5 separate regions of the Homo sapiens genome follow, and regions 1, 2, 3 and 4 are each linked to region 5. The links are contacts of gene promoters, found by promoter capture Hi-C in blood cells and fetal thymus (Javierre and others, 2016). All regions are on one chromosome and are shown on one strand. The core of a region is centred on a gene start or on the middle of the fragment in contact, and the rest is flanking DNA. Distances in the headings are between cores, read along the strand shown.

Evidence for each region. Contacts are between HindIII fragments. The CHiCAGO score rates a contact against its expected background, and 5 or more counts as called.
Region 1: a fragment that was not itself captured here is called in contact with the fragment with the promoter of TTC39B in region 5 in 2 of 17 cell types (fetal thymus and total CD4 T cells); the score reaches 7.1 in fetal thymus.
Region 2: a contact is called between a fragment that was not itself captured here and the fragment with the promoter of TTC39B in region 5, in 2 of 17 cell types (naive B cells and fetal thymus). The highest score is 6.4, in naive B cells.
Region 3: a fragment that was not itself captured here is called in contact with the fragment with the promoter of TTC39B in region 5 in 2 of 17 cell types (fetal thymus and total CD8 T cells); the score reaches 5.8 in fetal thymus.
Region 4: a fragment that was not itself captured here is called in contact with the fragment with the promoter of TTC39B in region 5 in 6 of 17 cell types (naive CD4 T cells, monocytes, naive CD8 T cells and 3 more); the score reaches 7.4 in naive CD4 T cells.

Annotation. Positions count from the first base shown.
Region 1 is chr9:15,635,914-15,641,114 of GRCh38, forward strand. All of the region lies in intron 7 of CCDC171 (coiled-coil domain containing 171), which reads left to right. Among named protein-coding and RNA genes, the nearest start is that of CCDC171, 85 kb to the left of the region's middle. The HindIII fragment of the contact is 343 bases long and covers 2,343-2,685 here.
Region 2 is chr9:15,614,945-15,620,160 of GRCh38, forward strand. All of the region lies in intron 6 of CCDC171 (coiled-coil domain containing 171), which reads left to right. Among named protein-coding and RNA genes, the nearest start is that of CCDC171, 65 kb to the left of the region's middle. RefSeq lists an enhancer at 3,533-4,032. The HindIII fragment of the contact is 1,373 bases long and covers 2,934-4,306 here.
Region 3 is chr9:15,586,083-15,590,876 of GRCh38, forward strand. The region is part of intron 4 of CCDC171 (coiled-coil domain containing 171); the gene reads left to right. It also overlaps the pseudogene HMGN2P16. Among named protein-coding and RNA genes, the nearest start is that of CCDC171, 35 kb to the left of the region's middle. The HindIII fragment of the contact is 3,016 bases long and covers 978-3,993 here.
Region 4 is chr9:15,562,815-15,568,086 of GRCh38, forward strand. CCDC171 (coiled-coil domain containing 171) reads left to right here. Exons shown (of 26, transcript NM_173550.4): 2 at 1,164-1,315. The coding sequence starts at 1,275. Among named protein-coding and RNA genes, the nearest start is that of CCDC171, 12 kb to the left of the region's middle. The HindIII fragment of the contact is 8,095 bases long and covers 1-5,272 here.
Region 5 is chr9:15,305,966-15,310,277 of GRCh38, forward strand. It overlaps TTC39B (tetratricopeptide repeat domain 39B), which reads right to left and starts at 1,251. Exons shown (of 20, transcript NM_152574.3): 1 at 1,119-1,251. The coding sequence starts at 1,160. RefSeq lists enhancers at 1-452, 1,016-1,578 and silencers at 816-1,135, 1,166-1,505. The HindIII fragment of the contact is 2,405 bases long and covers 1-1,492 here.

The sequences.
Region 1 (5,201 bases), core at 1,264-3,763, 330 kb after region 5:
AAGGGTTCTAGTTTCTCTAGATCCTCACCAACAGCTGTTATTGTCACTCTTTTATATTACAACCACTGTAGTAGGTGTGAAATGGTACCTTATTGTGGTTTTGATTTGCATTTCTCTGATGATTGATGATGTTGAATATCATTTTATGTGCTTATTAGGCATTCATGTATCTTCTTTGGAGAAATAGCTATTTAGACCCTTAGACCCTTCTCTTTTTTAAAAATGGATTATTTGTACTATGTATATATATATATATCTATAAGATGCTAACGATGGAGGAAACTGGGTATGGAGTAGGTAGATGGACTTACCAACAGAAATGCCAAATATGAACTTGGCAAGGATAAACTTCCTCATACTCTAACCACACATGGGTTATTTTTTACAAGATTACAGAAGGAATAAAAATATGAAATTATATTTGAAATAGTATTTTAACATATTGTCTTGTGCTGAACATCTTTTTAGGCCAATAAATTCAGGAATTCATTATATTTTATATCATCATTTTTAATACTATGGTTTGTAGATGGCTTACTAAAAAAGGATTAAGGGCCAGGAGCTGTGGCTCATGCCTGTAATCCCAGCACTTTGGGAGACAGAGGTGGGCAGATCACTTGAGACCAGGAGTTCAAGACCAGCCTTGGCAACATGGTGAAATATCATCCCTACAAAAAATACAAAACTTAGCCAAACATGGTGAAATGTGCCTGTAGTCCCAGCTGCTTGGGAGGCTGAGGTGGGAGGATCACTTGAGCCTGGGGAGTTTGGGCCTGCAGTGAGCTGTGATCGTGCTGCTGTACTCTAGCCTGGGCAACAAAGTGAGACCCTGCCTCAAAAAAAAAAAAAAAAAAAAAAGGTTTAGGATAGAGTTAATGTTCTGAATATTAGAATTTAAAAGATCACTTAGAAGTCACTTAAGGATGCTAGAAAACTCTATCATCACTAAAAACATTTTATTAATTGTGTTATAGTTGTGAGGCTGTACTATGTAATAACGAATTTTTTTTTGTTTTTAGGGTTCTTGGTAAGGCAGTTTTGACTCAGTTAAGAAAATATCGGCTGGGCGTGGTGGCTCATGCCTGTAATCCCAGCACTTTGGGAGGCTGAGGTGGGCCTATCACTTGAGGTCAGGAGTTTGAGACCAGCCTGGCCAACATGGTGAAACCCCATCTCTATTAAAAATACAAAAATTAGCCAGGCATGGTGGCGCTCGCCTGTAATCCTAGCTGCTCTGGAGGCTGAGACAGCAAAATCACTTGAACCTGGGAGGTGGAGGCTGCACTGAGCCGAGATTGTGCCACTGCACTCCAGCCTGGGCAACAGAGCAAGACTCTATCTCAAAAACAAAACAAAAGAAAAAGTAATAAAATGCACACAAAAAAGAAAATATCTAAACCTAAACTTTAAGGTGTGGTTGTGCACAACCCGGTATTGACTTTTTTCTGTAAAATACTTAATTTCCTCAATATCTGTTTTTATTGGTTGATGTTATAGGTATAATATTATTATAGACTGGTTTTATTTTTACTTTTTAAAATTTTTTTGTTTATTTTATTATTATTATTATTATACTTTAAGTTTTAGGGTACATGTGCACAATATGCCGGTTAGTTACATATGTATACATGTGCCATGCTGGTGTGCTGCACCCATTAACTCGTCATTTAGCATTAGGTGTATCTCCTCATGCTATCCCTCCCCCCTCCCCCCACCCCACAACAGTCCCCAGAGTGTGATGTTCCCCTTCCTGTGTCCATGTGATCTCATTGTTCAGTTCCCATCTATGAGTGAGAACATGCGGTGTTTGGTTTTCTGTCCTTGCGATAGTTTACTGAGAATGATGATTTCCAATTTCATCCATGTCCCTACAAAGGACATGAACTCATCATTTTTTATGGCTGCATAGTATTCCATGGTGTATATGTGCCACATTTTCTTAATCCAGTCTATCCTTGTTGGACATTTGGGTTGGTTCCAAGTCTTTGCTATTGTGAATAGTGCCGCAATAAACATACGTGTGCATGTGTCTTTATAACAGCATGATTTATAGTCCTTTGGGTATATACCCAGTAATGGGATGGCTGGGTCAAATGGTATTTCTAGTTCTAGATCCCTGAGGAATCACCACACTGACTTCCACAATATTTTTACTTTATGTTTTTTTCTTTACTGCTGTGTAAATACTTTTGATAATACCAGGTCTCTGCTTTTGGAGAACTTGAAGCTTTGAAGGTAGTCTAGATAGTCTTTATTTTTCTTCTATTTGTAAGAATTTTACAAGTGGAGAGCTTTAGTCTTCTAAGTTACCTATGATTTCTCATATTTAGATTCTTTTTAAAAGCTTTGCTTTATATTATATATCATGTGTTGTATATTAGTTAGTATATTTTATGTTGGCTGTTTGACCACATAGTGACATAATGAACAAGAAGTTAAATTTCTGGAGAGCATTTTATGTTAGTTTTACACTCAATTGCGGAGACAATCACTACCAGTAATACTAGGTACTTAAGTAATTGTTAGTGGTATTTTTAAGAGAATTAAGGTAAGATGGGATAATAATAAAGAAGAAGTTGTTAAAATTTTAATTTAATAAAGTACATTATTTAATATCAGCAATATCAAACTAAAGCAACTAATAAAATAGACATTTAGCCTAATGAATGTTTTAAATTCTAGTGAAGCTTTTTAACAGTTGCATTTCTTGAAAGGTGATTTTTTTATGTGCCTGAGCCAAAGAAGTTTTTATATATATGAAACATAAATATAAAAGAATTTAAAAATCTTATAAGCTTTATATCACTGTGTCTTAATCATCTTAACATGGATCAATGCTTTCTTAGATTAAAAAAAAACAAACAAACTCCCAATCCAATTTTATAAATGCAGTACTGGATACCATAGAATCAAGGGAAAAGCAAACTGGAAAAAGAAATATCCATGGCTTTTATAAACCTCTTTACAACTAGGGGAGTTTATTATCATGGGAAATAAGCTTAACTCAATAAGAAAAGAGAAAAGAGAAGATGCAAACCTAATTCTGAGAGAACTGAAGAATCTTCTGAAGATTATGGTAGAGAGAGAACAGTCTTTGCAAATAAATTCTGAATTGCTTCTGTCAGTCATATTCTATATTATAGTAACATAAAAAAGGGTAAAAGGTAGCATCTTTCTCTAAATGCGTACTATCTTCAACTGAAAATGGAAAAGTTGTATTTTACCTTTCATAATTGTTGATAAAGACCACCTTGTATGATTCATCTTTTTAAAGCCATCATGTGTTTGTAGGAATCATTTTCAAAGGTCCATTTGCATAGATTACTAACTATAAAATAGGTAAATGATGAAATCACCTGTGTTATACAGTCATAGGTATTACACATTTAAATGCAGCATTTTATGTTTATAATAAATTTTAAGATTGGAACTTCAGTTAAAAATTTGGTAAATACTCAAGTTTTTTTTGCCAGAAAAGGTAGAGATAATTTTTAAAGAAGGTAAATCAGTTTATTATCATGTTAATCAGAATTTGCGACCACAAATTCTGTTCCTGATATTTCTTATTTTTATTATCTGTGGGTTTTTTGATTATACCTAGAAGTAATAAAACTTTTTCTTCATTAAACTCTTTTATAATCTGAGTGGTATACTTCATTTCTTGCTGAATAAAAAAATTACAGTGTTCTCCAGTTTATTTCTATTGTCAGCCTATTGTCCTCATATATCCCTTCTGAAACCGTTAAGGCTCTGTTACCATCCTCAGTGACTTTAACTTTGAATTTTCTACCTTCAGAACTGCATAGTTAATCATGATCAAGATGACTGGCACAGAGAACTCTGAATCTTTCTATGTTCTGCTATGCTTTATATGAGCCTGTTTATGTAAAATAATCTAGGGGATTCTGGAAAACAAATATGTTTTGGCCATTAATAAAACAGTTACAGATGAATTGTAGTTCAGAGAAGTAAGTAGAAGGAATATCCTTTAGCGACAAATGAATTTTTGTCTACAACACAGGTCTTTTGCTTACTCCTAATGGAAATGCTTATAGATGTGTCAGGACTCGTTTTGGCCTTTGGGCCAAGGACCTAGTATGGCATCTGGCATATAGTAGGTACTCTATAAATGTTCCATTCTGCTTTTTAGTTGACCTATATAGTAAAATAAGTATCAATGAGATCATCATGAAAAGTTATAAACCTATTCATTTGTTTTTAATAATCTTTTGTTTTTATGCAGTCACATTTGTTTAATGGGATTGAATATAAATGTAAAATGTTTGGACTTCTATGAGGGTACAATAAAGTGGATAGGACTTCCTGACCAATTCACTTCCAAGACCAGTTGGACTTCCTTCCTCTTCTCTTTTACATGGCAGTTCCCGTGTTCTGAGTCACAAAGCAGCATTAATTTTGTCTCTGAGTTGTTTTTCTAATGTACTGTGCTGGCCACATGGAAAGTAGGAGAGCTACTTAAAAAAAAACACCACCTTCAAATTAGAATGCCTTATTAAGATTTAAAATATTATGTATCATACGAGGCCCCTTATGTAAAATATATCATGTTATTTTAAAAGTCAAATGAGAACATACACGAGAGTTCTTTGAAAACTGTAGCATATTAATATTTAACTCTAGGCATAATCTCCTCAGTGACATTAATGTAAATACACTCTGTCATGTAGAAGTGACATTAGAAATATAAATGCTTACATTTAAAAAGCCAACATTGAAGGTCAGACTAATTGAATAATATTATTGTTTCTTAACATGTTTGATTAGAACAAGGATGATAAATAGTAAAGGGCTTATAGACAGTTCTTAATTATGACCCTTCAATATATGACTCTAGCGATTAAGTGATTTAATACTGTGATGCCTGTTTTACAAATACTTATCAAATACTTGGAGACTCTGACCCTCTGAGGCATCTTTTTTGGTAATAAAAATCCTTTGAGACCTTCTGTTTAAGGGCTCAAAAGATAGTATTAACAAGTGTGCCCCCCTTCCCTGCCCAGGTAAAGAATAAGTGTTATATTTAAATATTAACATGCATATAATAAAATATTAACAGCTATTAAAATGTAACAAAATAAAATACACTTATCATTAAAATAAGCATCGTAGAATTAATCAGTCTATGATGATTCAGTCCCTTGGAATCACCTTTTTGTAGATGGATTATTACTATATTTATT
Region 2 (5,216 bases), core at 2,370-4,869, 310 kb after region 5:
TTGTTTTACCAATGAATAAAAAGAAACATTAAAGGAGCTAATAATTCCAGTTTTATGTAAACTCCTCTACAGAATGGAAACATCTTGATAGCATAATCTTGATACCAAACTGACAAGGATAGAAGAAAAGATAATTATAGCTAATCTCAGTTATGAATATATATGCAAAAATATTATACAAAATATTAGCTAACCAAATGTAGCAAGATTTTAAAAAGATAAAATATAAAAGACTTTATACAATTAATGTCAGGCGGGTTTAACATTAGAAAATCAATCAATATAATTCTAACTCAATGTAGTCAGTTAATTAATGTAATATAACTTTTCTTCATATAGAATTTCTAAGTATCTCTACTCTTGAGTAGAATTCCTAAACATCTCTACTATTTTAGGAAAACATCTTTTTCCGTGAAAACATGTTTGTGTGTTTGTATGTGTCTATATCTGTGTGTGTATTTATATTCATATCCAAGAATACAATAGAAATTATCATATAATATTAAGTGACTACCAGACCTCTGCATTGAAAATGTGATTGTTAGGTCAGAATTTTATCTAAATCTTGAAATACTCTTAAATAAAAGCCATTTGGCAAGTAATATTAAATATAGATCAACTATCATAGCAGTAATATAGTAATATATCACCAAAATAAACATCATAAGCTCTAACTGATTGGCCTTTGATTTTCCAGGTTCTTTTTTTTAAAAAAGGATTAAATTTAAACTTGGTGGAATAGTGGGCATACTCTTTGTTTATTGCAATGGGATTTAAGTGATTATGTGTTGTGTTTCTACATGATTTGTCAGTAAAATGGGAATCACGTGTGATTTTTTTTTTTTTTTTCTTCAGACAGGGTCTCACTCTGTCACCCAGGCTGGAGTGCAGTGGCATGATCTCAGCTTGCTGCAGCCTCTGCCTCCTAGGCACAAGTGATCCTCCCACCTCAGCCCTCCAAGTACTGGGACCACAGGCATGCGCCACAACGCCAGCTAATTTTTGTTTATTTATTTATTATTTTGAGATGGAGTCTCGCTCTGTCGCCCAGGCTGGAGTGCAGTTGTGTGATCTTGGCTCACTGTAACCTCCACCTCCTGGGTTCAAGCGATTCTCTTGCCTCAGCCTCCCGAATAGCTGGGATTACAGGTGTGTGCCACCACACCTGGCTAATTTTTTGTACTTTTAGTAGAGACAAGTTTCCACCATGTTGGCCAGGTTGGTCTCGAACTCCTGATCTCAAGTGATCTGCCCCCTTTGGCCTCCCAAAGTGCTGGGATTACAGGTGTGAGCCACCACGCCCAGCCATTTCTGTTTATTTTTTAGGGATGATGTTTTGCCATGTTGCCCAGTGTGGTCTTGAACTCTTGAGTTCAAGGGATCTACCCACCTTGGCCTCAAAGTGCTGGGATTACAGGAGTGAGCCACTATGCCTGGCCTATGATTTTCTTTTATAAATAAATCTCATGAGACTTCCTAAATAATTTATTTTACTATTTTATTTATTTTACTATATAAAATACTATATAAAATAGTTTCGATCAACTAGGATATAAGCATCTTTTTGTTATAGACTCCATTTTGTTATTATTTCAAATTATTTGGTTTATGGTTAACCATGTAAATTGCTATTTATTTACTTTAAAGTAGACAAGTATGTAAGTCAATGACTGAAAGTTGGAGATTATGTATTTGTAATTTAAGAAGGCATATAATTTAACAGTGACTGAATTAATACTGGGGCTATTGAGTGATTGAAGGAGGAGGACCTATCATATAGAATAATAGTCTTTTATACTTAGGTAGTATAGTGCATAATGTTCTTAAAAGTGCTTTCATATATGAAAGTACTCTTATGAAAAAATGAGATTACATAAGGTTGTTCATAATACTATTTGTATTTGGCCATTCTCACATTGCTATGAAGAAATACTTGAGACTGGGTAATTTATAAAGGAAAGAGATTTAATTAATTGGCTCATCATTCTGTATGCTTTACAGGAAGCATGGTGCTAACATCTGCTCGGCTTCTGGGGAGGCCTCAGGAAGCTTACAATAATGGTGGAAGGCAAAGGGGGAGCAGGCATGTCACATGGAATTTATGTTCCTCTCTATACTGGTTATTCTAGTTAGCAGTTCCTGTAATAACCTTTTATCAACGTTCTTAGCTTCTTTGCATTGTGTTAGAACATGCTCCTTTAGCTCAGAGGAGTTTGTTCCACCTTCTGAAGCCTACTTCTGCCAATTGCTCAATCTCATTCTCTGTTCAGTTTTGTGCCCTTGCTGGAGAGGTGTTGCGATCATTCGGAGGAGAAAAGTTATTCTGGCTTTTGGAATTTTCAGCATTTTTGTGCTGACTTTTCCTTATCTTTGTGGATTTATCTACCTTTGATCTTTGAGGCTGATGACCTTTGGATGGGCTTTTTGTGGGAGGGTTTTTTTTTTTTTTTGAGATGGAGTCTTGCGCTGTCACCCAGGCTGGAATGCAGTGGCGTGATCTCGGCTCACTGCAAGCTCCGCCTCCTGGGTTCATGCCATTCTCCTGCCTCAGCCTCCCAAGTAGCTGGGACTACAGGTGCACGCCACCACACCCGGCTAATTTTTTGTATTTTTAGTAGAGACGGGGTTTCACCATGTTAGCCAGGATAGTCTTGATGTCCTGACCTCCTGATCCACCCGCCTCGGCCTCCAAAAGTGCTGGGATTACAGGCGTGAGCCACCACGCCCGGCCTGTGGGGGGGGTTCTTGATGTTGATGTTGATGTTGTTCCTTTCTGTTTGTTAGTTTTTCTTCTAACAGGCCCCTCTTCTGATGGTCTGCTGCAGTTTGCTGGACTTCTGCAGGTCTGCTGCAGTTTGTAGGCCCTGTTTGCCTGGGTATCACTAGTGGAGGCTGGAGAACAGCAAAGATTGCTGCCTGCTCCTTCCTCCGGAAGCTTTGTCCCAGAGGGGCAGCAGCCTGATGCCAGCTGGAGCTCTCTTATATGAGGTGTCTGTCGATCCCTATTGGGAGGTCTCTCCCAGTCAGGAGGCAGGGGGGTCAGGGACCCACTTGAGGAGGCAGTCTGTCCTTAGGAGTGCGGGTGCGCTGTGCTGGGAGAATCCCCCTTGTCAGGATCAGCCGCTGTCTTCAGAGCTGACAGGTAGGAAAGATTTAAGTCCACTGAAGCTGCGACTGCAGCCGCCCCTTCCCCCAGGTGCTCTGTCCTACCAGGATGAGAGTTTTATCTGTAAGCTCCTGACTGAACTGCTGCATATCCTGCAGAGATGCCCTGCCCAGTGAGGAGGAATCCAGAGAAGCAGTCTGGCCACAGCCACTTTGCTTTGCTGTGGTGACTGTGCCCAGTCCAAACCTCCCAGTCTCCTTAGCACTATCAGGAGAAAACCACCTACGAAAGCCTCAGTAATGGCGGTCGCTGCTTCCCCCACCAAGCTCGATCATCCCAGGTCGACTCCAGACTGCTGTGCTGGCAGTGAGAATTTCAAGCCAGTGGTTCTTAGCTTGCTAGGCTCCGTGGGAGTGGGACCTGCTGAGCTAGACTTCTTGGGTTCCTGGCTTCAGCTCCCTTTCCAGAGGAGTGGACGGTTGTCCTTTCTCACTGGAGTTCCAGGTGCCACTGGCATACGAAAAAACTCCTGCAGCTTGGTGTCTGCCCAAACAGCCGCCCAGTTTTGTGCTTGAAACACAGGGCCCTGGTGGCATAGGGTCACGAGGGAATCTCCTGATCTGCGGATTGCAAAAATCCATGGGAAAAGCGTAGTACTCAGGGCGGGTAGCACAGTCCCTCCCCACTTCCCCTGGCTGGCTGGGGGAGGGAGTTGCCCTAGCTCCTTGCACTTCCAGGGTGAAGTGACGCCCCACCCTGCTTCTGCTTGCTCTCCGTGGGTTGCACCCAGTGCCTAACCAGTCCCAGTGAGATGAACTGTGTACCTCAGTTGGAAATGCAGAAATCACCCACCTTCTGCGTTGGTCTCGCTGGGAGCTGCAGACTGCCGCTGTTTCTATTTGGCCATCGTGGCCCCTCCCCGCCCTGTCCAGTGGTCTTTACGTTACTGCTATTGTAATTGTTTTGGGGCACCATGAACCATGCCTGCATAAGGTGATGTACTTAATTTATAAATATATGTGTTCTCACTACTCCTCTGTCCAGCCGTTCTTCCAACTCTCCCTCTCGTCTGGCCTTCCTACTCCTTGAGACACAACAATGTTGAAATGAGGCCAGTTAACTCTACAGTGTCCTCTAAGTGTTCAAGTGAAAGGAAGGCTCACACCTGTTTCATTTTAAATCAAAAGCTAGAAATGATTAAGCTTAGTGAGGAAGGAATGTTGAAAACCAGTACAGGCCAAACGCTATGTCTTTAGTGCCGAACAGCCAAGTTGTGAATGCAAAGGAAAAGTTCTTGAAGGAAATTAAAAGTGCTACTTTAGTGAACACATAAGTGATAAGAGAGCCAGCCATTCTTATTGCTGACATGGAGAAAGTTGTAGTGGTCTGGATAGATCAAACCAGCCACAGCATTCCCTTAAGTCAAAGCCTAATTTAGAACAAGACCCTAACTCTCTTCAATTTGATGAAGGCTGAGAGAGGTGAGGAATTTGGAGAAGAAAAGTTGGAGGCTAGGAGAGATTGGTTCATGACTTTTAGGGAAATAAGACTTCTACATAATATAAAAATGCAAGGTGAAACAAGTGCTTATGTAGAAGCTGCAGCAAGTAATCCCAAAGATCTAGCTAAAATAATCGATGAAGGTGGCCACACTAAACAACAGATTTTCATTGCAGACAAAACAATCTTCTACTGGAAGGTGTCATCTAGGTGTTTCAGAGCTAGAGAGGAGAAGTCAGTGCCCAGCTTTAATGCTTCAGAGGACAGGATGACTCTCTGGTTAGGGGCTAATATTGCTGGTGAGTTTAAGTTGAAGCCATTGCTCATTTACCATTCTCCAAATCCTAGGGCCCTTAAGAATTATGCTACATATACTCTGCCTGTGCTCTATAAATGGGACAACAAAGCCCAGATGACAGCTCATCTCTTTACAGAATATTTAACTGAATATTTAAGCCCACGGTACCTGCTGCTCAGAAAAAAAAGATTCTTCTCAAAATATTGTTTGTTAACAATGCACTTGGTTACTGAAGAGCGCTGATGGTTATGTACCAGCAAGTTAATGTTGTTTTCATCCTTGCTAACACAACATCCATTCTGCAGCACATGC
Region 3 (4,794 bases), core at 1,236-3,735, 280 kb after region 5:
ATGATATACATGCTGAACTATTTAGGAGTGAAATGTCCTGATGTTTGCAACTTGCTTTGAAATGCATAAAATGTATGATGGACTGCTGGGTGGATAAATGAATGCATGCATTGAAGGATGGATGAATATCTGATAAAGCAAATATGGCAAAATGTTAACAATCCTAGAGTCCAGGTTGTAGATATATGGATGTTCACTGCACAATACTTTCAACTTTCTGTGTTTTTAAAATTTTTATAGTGAAATGTTGAGGGTAGTGTAAAAAGCCTAATGCAGTTATGAGATAATCCCATAACAATGGAGAGAACAGGGGGTGTGACAAGAGAGAAAATTTTGGAAGCTGGAAAGCAAATGGATGAGGAATAACTGAGTTAGAGAGATGTTAAAATCCTAAGTCAGGAGTGGGGAAAACCGAAAGAGAAATTCTTAGTCAAAAGGCTTATAAACTGGAAGCACCAGATACCATTGGAATTATGTATGGGAGTAGCAGTAGTGAGTAAAATAAGTAGGGTTAGATGAAAGCTGTTTGAGAGGCAGATAGGTCCTTAGATTTCCTTCCAAGAGCATGCTACTCTGGGATTACTTAAGAATTGCTAGTGGAAGTCAGGAGGTTTAATCCCTGGAGATGGCGAAATAGAGTCTTTTGACTGGCAAAACCAGGAAGATTCTGAATGCTGAATATTGAGGAGCCATTCCTTCCAGCTTCCCTTTAATTAATTAATTAATTATTATTATTACTTTTAGAGACAGAGTATCACTTTGTTGCCCAGGCTGGAGGGCAGTGGTGTGGTCATAGCTCAGTGCAGCCTTGAACTCCTGGGCTTAAGCCATCCTCCCACCTCAGCCTCCTGAGTAGTTAGGACTATAGGTGTATGCCACCACACGTGACTAATTAAAAAAAATTTTTTTTTGTAGAGACTAGGTCTTGCCATGTTGACCAGGCTGGTGTCAAACCCTTGGCCACAATCAATCCTCCAAGCTTGGCCTCCCAAAATGCTGGGATTACACGTGTGAGCCACCATGCTCAGCCCCCAGCTTCCTTTATATATTGACTTCCCCAAAAGCTAACACCTGGATTTCTACACTCTATGCCGGATGTTGGAGGACTCTTTTGTGTATCACCTGACCAAGCTGATATAGTTTGGCTCTGTGTCCCCTCCCAAATCTCATCTTGTAGCTGTCATAATTCCCATGTGTTATGGGAGGGACCCAGTGGGAGATGATTGCATCATTGGGGTGGGTCTTTCCCATGCTGTTCTTGTGATATGGGTCTCACGAGATCTGATGGTTTTAAAAATGGGAGTTTCTCTACACAAGCTCTCCTTTTGCCTGCTGCCATGCATGTAAGATATGACTTGCTTCTCCTTGCCTTCTGCCATGATTGTGAGGCTTCCCCAGCCATGTGAAACTGTAAGTCCAATAAACCTCTTTCTTTTGTAAATTGCCCAGTCTCAGGTATGTCTTTATCCAAAAAAACAGACGAATACAAAGCCAGGAGGAAGAACCTAATGATACTGATGTTGGAGGTTTCCCAATAAATGAGCCATCCAGATCCTTCTCCAGCGAAGACTAAAGTTGTTAACGTCCACCTTGAAGCTCAGATTCTAGGTGGTGGGTATATTAGTGTATAAACTGTATTACATTTATAGTTTCTAACTTTTAATGAGAGTAGACAACCAAGAGTTACCAGATATATGAGGAAACCCTTTAAAATGGAGAGAAGAAATCAACTTAGAAGAAACAGAGGCTCTGCAGGGAGAACATTTAAAAGAAGTAGCATTAATTTCCTCAGATCTGAAAGAATATATTTCATCTATGAAGTAAGAACCAGGTGTTATAAAAGATGAAATCTATTAGAAATTAAAAATATGAGGCCAGGCGCGGTGGCTCACGCCTGTAATCGCAGCACTTTGGGAGGCCGAGGCAGGTGGATCATGAGGTCAGAAGTTCAAGACCAGCCTGACTGATATGGTGAAACCCTGTCTCTACTAAAAATACAAAAATTAGCCAGGCGTGGTGGCAAGTGCCTGTAATCCCAGCTACTCGGGAGGCTGAGGTGGGAGAATCACTTGAACCTGGGCGGCAGAGGTTGCAGTGAGCCGAGATTGCGCCACTGTACTCCAGCCTGGGTGAGAGAGTGAGACTCTGTCTCAAAGAATTTAAAAATATGGAAGCAGTGGGAAGAAGAGGCAAGAAGGACCCCCGGACTGACCAAAGCCCACACGCCATTGCATCCCTGCATCTGGTGCTACGTCTTAGCAGCATTACCACCATGCCCAAGAGAAAGCCTGAAGGGGATGCTACAGGAGATAAAGCCAAGCTACAGAGAAGATCTGCAAGGTTGTCTGCTAAACCTGCTCCTTCAAAGCCAGAGCGCAAGCCCAAAAAGCCTTCTTTGCCCCTGCAAAGAAGGGAGAAAAGGTACCCAAAGGGAAAAGCTGATGCTTACAAGGAGGGGAAGAATCCTGCAGGAAATGGAGATGCCAAAACAGACCAGGCACAGGAAGCTCAGCGTGCTGGAGACGCCAAGTGAAATGTGTGCATTTTTGATAACTGTGCACTTTTGGTGACTATACAGTTTGAAATATTTTTCAACCAAGTTTTATGAAGATGCAGACTTTTTTTTTTTTTTTTTTTTTTTATGAGACGGAGTCTCACTCTGTCACCCAGGCTGGAGTGCAGTGGCACGACCTCGGCTCACTGCAAGCTCCACCTCCCGGGTTCACGTCATTCTTCTGCCTCAGCCTCCTGAGTAGCTGGGACTACAGGTGCCCGCCACCACGCCCGGCTAATTTTTTGTATTTGTTTTGGTAGAGATGGGGTTTCACCGTGTTAGCCAGGATGGTCTCGATGTCCTGACCTTGTGATCCGCCTGCCTCGGCCTCCCAAAGGGCTTGGATTACAGGCGTGAGCCACCGCACCCAGCCGTGTTTTTTTTTTAGAGCTATGTTGTTGCCCCACAGAAAACGTCGTTGTTTTTTGAGGAAGGGACATGTGTTACTACTAGAATGTCTCTGAAGTGGATTGATGGGGGGAAAACACGTTTCCCTTCTAGTTTTGAGAGACTTCTTCTTGGCTTCCAGGAGGAGAGATTCCCTGATATTGACACACATAGCCACCTTGGCACAAACACCTTGTGGTGTGGAAAAACAAATTTGTTTTTATGTCCTCTTCTCCCTTCCATCCTCAGCATAGACTTAACTCCCTTAAGCCCAGACATCTCTTGGGATTGACTCCCAGTAATTGGTTGCCAGTGTATCAGGCAATCTGGACTTTCCAATGACACCACTGAGATGGCACTCCTCAAAATAGCAGCCCTTCTGTTTCTAGATTGTAGATCTTTAGATAAATCCTGCCATTTTCATTTCACTTCCTAAAAGTCAGAGTCTGCTTGTGAAAAGTTGTTAAACAACATGTTAATGTGAAATGTCAACCCCCACTCTAAACTCTCTGTTGAGAACATCAAATGAGGACTTCATTGGGTTTATAGTGGCTTTCTGATTTTGGTAGTCCTTTGAAGAAGAGGGTTTGAAAGTTGTATACTGTTAATTGAAATACCTGCCTACAATACCATTATTGTTTGTGAAAAATATAATTAATAAAGTTGGATACAGTTTGGCTTGAAAAAATTAACAAATTAAAAATATGAAGGCAGAAATGAAAAATGTCCCTAGAAGCACTGGAAGATGAAGATGGAAGAAACCTCCCAGAAATTAGAATTAAAAAGACAGAGGTAGAAAAATAGGAGAGAAGAGATGAAAAAATTTGAGGACCAATTTGAATAATAGGGAATAGTGAAAGACGTAAGAGAGAAAACAGAAATGTATGATAAATCATCAATGAAAATAACTCAAGATAACATCTCAGAACTAAAGGACATGAATTACCAGATTGAAAGAGTCTATTGAATATTTACCGTTATGGAAAGAAGTAGACCTACTGCAGGCATAGCATTATGAAATTTCAGAAAAATAAAGACAGAGAAGATTCTAAAGCTTTCACGAGAAAAGAAAAATAGGTCAAATGCAAAGGATCAGGAGTCAAAATGGCCTCAAACTACTTTCCTGCAATGCTGGATGAGAGACCATGGAAGAATGTCTTCTGGAGATGGCAGCTGAATGGGAGGGGGACTTTTAATGTATTTCCTTTTGTACCTTTTATACCTTTGTATTTTGAACATTTTGAATGTATGATTGATTCAAAATGCAAAGAAATATAATTTAGAAATACTGCTAATATAGCTGTGGCATCTTTTAACATGTGTTTTTATAAACATTTCCTCATTTTATCTTCACAAAAACTTAACTAGGGACATTCTTATTTCTAGTGAGAATCAGAGAATCAGGGAGGTTTAATAAGTGGCAGGTGATGGAGCCAGACCTGGAAGCATTTCCTTCTTTTCTAGGTGCTGAAACAGAGCAGCAGTGTTAGTGTGTTGATAGGTGTTGGTTATTGTTGAGGTAATCGGGTAGGAGGTGAGTTGCACCTAAATCTGGCAAAGTAAATAGTTACAGTTCTAAGGGTTGGGGTAGTGGTTTCCAGCCTCAGCTTTGTGACCCTTGTGTAAGATGTGTTACAACTAGTTTGTTGTCAATAGTCAAATATAAAAATTTGTAATCTACTCTTTTTAAAAACTTGCCCTATATATCACAGTCTTAAAAATAGATTTTTTTCTTCTTTCTTTCTTTCTCTTTCTTTCTTTCTTTCTTTCTTTCTTTCTTTCTTTCTTTCTTTCTTTCTTTCTTTCTTTCTTCTTCTTTCTTTCTTTCTTTTTTCTTTCTTTCTTTCTCTCTT
Region 4 (5,272 bases), core at 2,694-5,193, 260 kb after region 5:
TCATTCTGAAGGAAGTTTCCCTGGGGTCTGACCTTCAGGAGCGTGGTGATAATGTGACAAGATTTTGGGACAATATCTGAAGAGCTTGATAGACTCCTTGGTGCCCCCCACTTAATAGCTGAATGGCTTTGGGCAAGACAGTTGAGCGTCTCTGAATCAGATGAGTTTTCTTATAAAGTGAGGATAATAACCCTCACGTAAGATAACTTATAGTTCAGGTTTATGTGTCATCAGTGGCCTGTTAGAAAGAACTTGAACTTCAGTGTCAGAGAGTTATGAATTGGAATCTTGGTTCTGTAACTATGTGACTTTTTCAAGTTACTTCTTTTTTTTTTTTTTTTGACACGGAGTTTCTCTCTTGTTGGCCAGGCTTGAGTGCAATGGTGCAATCTTGGCTCACTGCAACCTCCGCCTCCCAGGTTCAAGCAATTCTTCCACCTCAGCCTCCTGAGTAGCTGGGATTACAGGCATGTGCCACCCCGCCTGGCTAATTTTATATTTTTAGTAGAGGTGGGGTTTCTCCATGTTGGTCAGGCTGGTTTAGAACTCCCGACCTCAGGTGATCTGCCTGCCTCTGCCTCCCAAAGTGCTGGGATTACAGTCGTGAGCCACCGCACCCGGCTCAAGTTACTTTTAATCTCAGTCTTGGTTTTCTTGGTAGAAAAATGGGATAATCCTTACATTGCAGTGTTGTAAGGATCACAATGCTATATATAAAATACCAATTACAGTGCTTGACGCTGTAGTAGGTGTTCAGTAGATGAATGACGGTGGTATTCATTTGTCTACCACTATTTCCAACCTAGTCTTTCAGGTCCCTGGATAGATGAGATCTCCCCATTCCCACATCATCTTGGCCAAAATTTCAACCTCTGTCCTAGGTCAGACTGTTCAGTCAGCCACGTGAATCACTGTTGTAAAGATCCTTTGGATCTATATGTAGGAGCTGTTAGTCATTTCTCAGCACTGAGATACAGTCTCCATCTCAGTCTGCTTATTTGAGTTCCTTTTCTTTTGGTGATCTTCTGAGGTCTAGATATCTCTATACACCTACAATTTCACTTATCAATTATTACATCTTTCCAAAATAAACCAAAAAACAAGAAAAATCTCCAATAGTATCAGGACTCAAACTGCTATTGTATCATTTACTATTTTAACAGACCTCAAATCATCTAACGTGAAGCCACAGACATCTTGGGCAATTTTAATCATCAAGAAAGAAATATGTCATTAAGAAATAGCAGGGTATTTTGAAAGAGTTGGAAAACATCATGAATTTGAATACTTCAAGTAATACTGGTGATACCCAAAGGTAAGCCTCTAGTCTCTTCTTTTAGTTGATGAACGTTTTTAGTTGCAAGGAACAGGGAGAAGTCAGTGGTTGTAGAGCTAACTGTAAGAATTCTCATGGGATGGTAAGGGGAGTAGAAATTCTGTGGGACTGAAGGAGCATGAATGAAGCCTCATAAGAATTGGAACTGATTCTAGAGACTTTATGGGGATTTTGTGCTCCTCTGTTAATTTGGACCACAAAAGTCTGTGTGTCTGAACTTTGTCCTGTTACTAGAGACTTGCTTGTTCTTTTCCACTACTTTAAATGTTTCCCTTGTATTTTTTATTTATATTTCTGTTTTGTTTTCTTTAACCTCTGTGGCTTTAATTCCTCTTTCTTCATTGGCCCAGCTCTAATTCATGGCTACTGCTTAAGCATTCATTTAGTCTTAGCTCCTGTTGCTGTTTCGCTTCCTTACTTGGTATCTCTCAGTTTACCCTTCAAGACGTAACGCCTAATTGCTGTTGCTCATCTTTTTTGTACCATTGATTTCTGCCTTTGGGCGTGGCGCCTACCTTTAGTTCATTCACCTTTGGTGGGTGGAGTCTATAATACAAAACTGGACCACATAGGGCAGTGCCACTCTCTCCTAAGTGTGCTTTACAAAGAAATAAGTACTGAAATTAAAAGTAAATGTTTAGAAACTTTTATAGTCATGTAACAGAGTAATATTCTGTCTGCTGAATCTAAGAGTAAAACATTTGGGGTTGTATTCTGTCTGTTTTTAAAATTTCTTTAAAAATAATGCATTAAATGTATTTTACAAAATCATCATGGATGGGGTGAAGATAGTCCTTCCTCATATTTAGTTTGAGAAGGACTGATCTAGACTGCCTTTTCAGCAAGGATGTGTGGGTGGGACAAGTACCAAGACTAACATGTAATTTACCCGTAAATTTGTTTTCCACTTAGCTTTTGAAGCTACCCACCCCCCACTTTTTTTTTTTTTTTTTTTTGAGACAGAATCTTGCTCTGTCGCCCAGATTGGAGTGCAGTGGCATGATCTTGGTTCCCTGCAACCTCCGCCTCCCGAGTTCAAGTGATTCCCCTGCCTCAGCCTCCTAAGTAGCTGGGATTATAGGCGCCTGCTGCCACGCCTGGCTAATTTTAAATATGTATTTACAAATTAGAATATTTCACCTTATTTAGTATCCTGCTTTTTCAATTTTGGGGAAACTTCTTACCACATCAATGTATCAAAGTTTTTAAATTTTTCTGAAGTGGGGTCTTGTTATGTTGCCCAGGCTGTCTGAGAACTCCTGGCCTCAGGCAATCCTCCTGCATCAGCCTCCCAAGTAGCTGGAACTGTAGGCACGCACCATTGCTCCGGCTTGTCATCATTTTTAATGGCTGAATTACTTTTTATAATTAGAGAATCTGGATACAGTTATTTAAAATCTGCTACTAATCTACTTTCTGTTTCTATAGATTTGCCTTTTTTGAACAATTCATGTGAATGGAATCACATAATAGATGGTCTTTTGTGGCTTCTTTTACAGGGCATATTCCTGAGTTTTGTAAAGTTGTAACACGTAGCAGCCCTTCGTTTCTTTTTATTGCTGATTGTATTCCATTGTATGGATATGCCACATTATGCCCATCTGCCAGTTGACAGACATTTGAGTTGTTTCCACTTTTTGGGTACTATGAATAATGCTGCTGTGCATGTTTGCATATGTCTTTGTGTTGACATATGTTTTTGTTTCCCTTAGGTAGATTCTTAGGAGCAGCAATGCTGTATCATATAGTAAATTTATGTTAAAATTTTCAAGAAACTGCCAAATTGTGTTCTGAAGTGGCTGGGTCATTTTATATTATCACTAGCAATAATTGAGGGTTTTAATTTCTCTATAACCTGACCAATACTGGTTTTTATCTATTTCAATTTAGCCATTTTGGTGAGTGTGAAGTTATATGTTATTGTGGTTATAATTTGAATTTTCCTAATGATTAACGATGTTGAACATCTTTGCATGTGCTTTTTGGTAATTCATGTATCTTCATTGGTGAAATGTCTCTTCAGATCTGTTTATTTTTAAATTGTGTTTTTTTTTTTTATGTTATTGAGCTTTAGGAGTGTTTGTATATTTGGAATGCAAGTCCTTTATCAGATACATGATTTGCTGGCCTGGTGCAGTAACTCATGCCTGTAATCCCAGCACTTTGGGAGGCTGAGGTGGGTGGATTGCTTGAGCCCAGGAGTTCGAGACCAGCCTGGCCAATATGGCGAAACCCCATCTCTACAAAAAAATACAAAAATTAGCCAGGCGTGGTGGTGTGCCTGTGTGGTCCCAGCTACTCCAGAGGCTGAGGCATGAGAATTGTTTGAAGCTGGGAGGCGGAGATTGCAGTGAGCCTAGATCATGCCACTGTACTTGAGCCAGGGTGACAGAGCGAGACTTTGTCTCAACAACAACAACAACAAAAAATAAGATATATGATATGCAAACATTTTTCTCCTGTTTAGTGGCTTGACTTTTTGTTTTCTTAATAGTGTCTTTGGAAATGCACAAGTTTTTAACTTTGATGAAGTCCAGTTTATCAGTTCTTTTCCTATAGGAGTTGTGCTTTTGGTTTTGTATATAAGAAATCTCTGACTAACCTAAGGTCATGAAGATTTTTCTTCTATGTTTTCTTCTAGAAGTTTTATAATTTTAGCTCTTATATTTAGTGCTCTATTTTAAGTTACTTTTTGTACGAGGTAAGGGTCTAAATTTGTCTCTTTGCATGTGCGTAGCCAGTTGTTCCAGCAGCGTTGTTGATAAGAGTAACATTTCCCCGTTGAATTGCCTTGATACTTCTGTTGAAAATTACTTAACTATTTAAGTATAGGTTTATTTCTAGAGTCTTAACTCTGATATATTGATCTACATGTCCTTTTTTTTTTTTTTTTTGAGGCAGAGTCTCACTGTGTTGTCAAGGCTGGAGTGCAGTGGCGTGATCTCACTGCAACCTCTGTCCCCCGGGTTCAGGTGATTCTCCTGCCTCAACCTCCCGAGTAGCTGGGATTACAGGCACCTGCTACTGTGCCCAGCTAATTTTTGTATTTTTAGTAGAGACGGGGTTTCACAATCTTGGGCAGGCTGGTCTTGAACTCCTGACCTTGTGATCCACCGGCCTCAGCCTCCCACAGTGCTGGGATTACAGGCGTACATGTCTGTTCTTAATCCAATATCACATTGTCTTGATTACTGTAGCTTTATAGTAAGTTTTGAAATTAGGAATCAAAAGTTTTCCCATTTGTTCTTCAAGATTGTTTTGGCTATTTTGAATTCTTTGTCTTTCCATATGAATTTTAGGATCAGCTTTTCAGTTTCTGCAAAAATGTCTGTTGGGGTTTTAATAGGGATTATATTGAATATGTAGAATAATTTGGGGAGAATTGCCATTTTAATAATATTGAGTTTTCCTTACATGAATGTGAGTATGGTGGAATGTCTTTCCACTTGTTTAGCTTTTCAACTCCTTTGAACAACATTTTGTATTTTTCAGTGTAAAAATCTTTCACTATTTTTTTTTTTTGAGACAAGGTCTTGCTCTGTTGCCCAGGCTAGAGTACAGTGGCATGATCTTAGCTCACTGTGGCCTCAACTCCTGAGCTCAAGTGACCCTCCTGCCTCAGCCTCCTTAGTAGCTAGGACTACAGGCATGTACCACCATGGCTGGCCAATTTTTTTTATTTTTGTAGAGACAAGATCTTGCTATGTTTCTCAGGCTGGTCTTGAACTCCTGGCCTCAAGTGATCCTCCTGCCTTGGCTTCCCAAAGTGCTGGCATCAGGCATGAGCCACCATCCCTGGCCTTGCATTTCTTTTGTTAAATTTATTTTATTCTTTTTGATGCTGTTATAAATGGAATTGTTTTCTTAATTTTGTTTTTGGATTGTTCATTACTAGGATATAGAAGTATAATTGATTTTTGTTTATTGATCTTGTAT
Region 5 (4,312 bases), core at 1-2,500:
TGTCTCTCTGTCATGCAGAGGAGCTGTAGTTCAGTTTTTGTTTTTTGTTTATTTTACGGAGCACATTTAAAGTATAGTCTTCCTTGTCAGGAGATTCCTGGCACTAAAGAGATGGACGGGAAACTTAACCGCCTCCTCCAGATCGTCCACTATTGCATCATTTGAAACCAAAGCCTTCTAAAGGCAGCGACTCGCACAATTCAAGTCAGGTAAGATGGCAGGAACAGCAGCTGTGGGTGCTGGCTGCTGCTGGAGCCTCGGTCTCAACTTCAAGAGCAGGGAGAGCGCTGTCTCTGGAGTTGCCAGGTGCTGAAATGAATAGTCAATAAATCAACAGGTCCGGCGCGCTAGCCCCTGGGTGCTCAGGCCCGGGCGCGCCACGACTGAAGGAGTGGCTAATTACTCAAACACAGTTGAAACCAAAGGAGGCCGGAGTCGGTTCTCAAAGTGGTTTCCCTCCGGCCACCACCGACTCTGAGGACCTGCTAGGGGAAGTGTCCCGGCCCCGTGGAGGGAGAGGGAAGCACCACAGCCTGGGCTGCGGCTCTAGCCCTCCAGCCCCAGCCCCTGGCAGCCCTGCCCTGCTGTCGCGGCAGGTACCCCTCTACTCATTGTTCCTCAGGCTGCCCCCTCTTTTCATCAATCGTAAGCCTTTCGGTTCTGCCACCAGGAAACTTCCATAGAAGGTGAGATTCCCAGGTCGAGGGATGATTCCACGAACACCCAGAGAGCCAGTGCCAGGACTTCAGGGTCAGACTTCGTAAAGCCCAGGCGTCGCTGGGCCGGCCCGGAACAGCTCAGAGCTGCGGGTCCTATGGTCCCGCGCCCTCACGCCCATCCAAGTGCTGGCAGGACGTGGGTCCTCCATCCCCACGACTCGCGGGGCCGGCGCTCCGAACCTCGGCACTGCGTCCGCTCCGCGCGCCGCAGGGACCCTCCTAGCTCCAGCGGGGACAGACCTACCAAGGCCGGGCGCCCCCACCCGGCGCCCGCCAGCCCACCCCAGAGAGGGGACCAAGGGGGCGGGGCCTCGGCCGTCCTAGCCGGGCTCACTCTTCTCTCCCGGACTCCTGTCCAGGGCTTCAGGGGCCGGGCCCGCAATCCCCATCGGATCGTACCTCGTCCGCTTCCAGCTCCGCTCGGCTGCCTAAGAGCGCCATATTCCTCCTCTGGCTGCTGCCACCCAAAAACCAAGCAGGGAACTCAGAGCCGACTCCTGCTCTCGGCTCTGGGCTCAGCCCAGCGCAAAGGAGGGCAAAAGGGGACGGCCCGGCGCTCCCTCCGGGTCTCGGGCGGGGCCTGAGTGCAGCTACTCGATTTCCCCGCCCCCGGAGCCGGCAGGCCAGCACAGCATCCATTTCCTCCCCGGACGCCGCGCCGCTGGCCGGGCCACTTGCCCGGCCCCCAGCGGGCGGCAGCCCCGCCCAAGTGGGTGGAGTCACCTCCCAGATAAAGTTTCCCGGTCTGGCACGCCCTCTGGGAGGGTTTCCTAAGCTTTCCTGCCGCCTGTTCTCTGCGGTGGCTGGGCACACCTGGAAAGAAGCTAGAGAGCGCGGGCATGACGAAGCCAAGGTCAAAGCAGCGCCCCACCTGGGGTCCGTGGAAGCATCCACCTGGTCTTTGGTCCGGTGCCAGTCCTTTTCCCTCGCCAGGTGGCCACCGCATCTCGCAGATGGTGTGGCCTGAGGGCAGCCTTGGGTCACGGTCACTGGTCCCCGAGAGGCCTCTGACACACCACCCACCTGGACTGTAGGTGGAAGGACTCTGCTTGCTTCTGTGTTCAAAAAATAGAAAAAAACGCGGGACAGAGATTTATACATATTGGAACTCCTCTACTTCCCCCTACCCGGACAGTGTATTCTCCCCATAGCATCCTGTATTTTGTAACTCCAAACATAGGTGTATAATTCGTGCTTGAACTATAAACTCCATGGGGGTAGGATGCTATCTGTCCTCTTCAAGACTGTATCCCCAACACCCAGAACAGTGTCTTGCACATCGTAGGTGCTCAACAGATATTTGTTGGCTGAGTTTAGAAACTGAACCTTGCTTCTGACATGTAAAATAACTGGAAAATTAAAAGCTAGATCTTTAAGAGTTTGGGGGAGAGAGGTCAGATTTACTTTACATACAGAAAAATGCACCAAGTTAAATGTGTGATTCAGTGACAAGTGTTTACAAAGCATCCCAGTCATAATATAGAACATCCTGAAAAGTTTTCTGTGACCCTTTGCTGTCAATTTCCTACCTCCGCTCCCTAGCCTCTGTCAATCACTGATCTGCTATCAACATCGATTTGCCTTCTCTAGAATTTCATATAAATTTAATTAGAGCATGTGGTCTTCCATGTCTGGCTCATGAAAGGCTATTTAATAGTCATCCAGTGATAACTGTAAAAACAGCTAATAGTTCTTGAGTCCTTACTATGTGCCAGGACTCTACTGAACCTCTTGCATATAGTATTTCATTTATTCTTCATAACCCCATAAAGTAGGGTGCTGTTCTCTTTCAGATGAGTAAACTGAGGCTCAGAGAGTTCAAGTAATATGCCTGAGGCCAGACAGCAGTTAAGTAAGTAGGGATGCCAGCATCTGAACCCCAGCAGTCTAACTCTAGGGCCTAGCTGATAACCATTGCTTTGTACTGTACTGGCTCTAGCCACCCTCCCTCTCTTTCTTTCTGTGTCAGTAGAGCAGTTGTCTGTGCAAGTCCATTACATACATTTTCAGTGAGTCACTTTGCATCCTTAATACTTGCTGTACAATTTTAATGGCTTGGCATGTACTTTTGTACTAGAATAATAAAATGGTTTCTACAGCAGAAACATTGAAAAAATGGGTTAGATCGTGTGATGGTTGCTCAACTCTCTGAATTGTCTAAAAATCCTTGAATTGTGTACTTACAATAGGTGGAACTTATGATTATGTAAATTATATCTTAGTAAAGCTGTTTTAAAAAAACTAGCTGACACAGGCTAGGTGTGGTGGCTCACGCCTGTATGGGATTACAGCACTGGGAGACTGAGGAAGGAGGCTAACTTGAGTTTAGGAGTTCGAGACTAGCCTGAGCAACATAGCAAGACCCAATTTCTAAATAATAATACTTTTTTTTTTTGAGAGACAGTTTCACTCTCATCTCCCAGGCTGGAGTGCAATGGCTCGATCTTGGCTCACTGCAACCTCCGCCTCCTGGGTTCCCACTAATCTGTAAATTGCTTAGAAGGAGGCACTATCTTATTCATCAGTGCAGGTACTCAATAAAAAAGCTCCAGGTGCAGTGGCTCATGCCTGTAATCCCAACACTTTGGGAGACCGAGGCGAGCGGATCACGAGGTCAGAAGTTCGAGACCAGCCTTACCAACATGGTGAAACCCAGTCTCTACTAAAAATACAAAAAGCAGCTGGGCATGGTGGTATGCGCCTGTAATCCCAGCTACTGAGGAGACTGAAGCAGGAGAATTGCTTGAACCCTGAAGGCGGAGGTTGCCGTGAGCCGAGATCGTGCCATTGCACTCCAGCCTGGTGAAAAGAGTGAAACTCCGTCTCAAAAATAATAATAATAATAATACTTTTATTATTTAGAACACATGCTCTGAACACTTAGAATCAGATGGACCAGAAGAGACATAGAGTTTGTTTAATTCCAATACCCTTGAAAGTTTCCATTCCTTCCCAGACCCCCAACCCACTCCTACCTCCTCCTATGTTTCACTTTCTGAGGCTAGAATTCCTATCCAGGTCCAGATTCTACTCTGTATTACTCATGCATGGTTCTGTTTTTCAAAGTTCATTGGTTCCTGAATTGATAGCACATCCTTTTGACATGAAGCCATCTCACTGGTAGCTTCTTCTCCCATATGCTGTTATTCTGCCTTTGGAATTTCAACTCTTCAAATTTTGAAGAGATCCAAACAAACTTCGCTCTAATTAGTGACAGAATTATGTTATAATGAAAATCGAGTACAATTTTTCAAAAATCTATACTTATAATTGAAGCTTGATTGGTGTTTTTGTTGTTGAATTTTTTACATATCAGGGATCAAACCTGAAGTCTCGTATGTTTTAAATTCACGGCAGGAGATAAGCAACATTCATGTTTCAATTATAAACACTGAATGAATAAATGTATTCTAGCCACTGGAACGTCTAATCAAATTTGCTTTGCTCAGGGCAGCTGTCAGCTTTGCCTATACAAGAGTGATTTTATCGTGAATCACAAATATAAAAGTTTTTCTTCAAAGAACAATTAGAATGGATTTGTTTTTACACAGAATTCCCCTTGCAAGTTTGCTGATAATGTTATACTCTAGCAG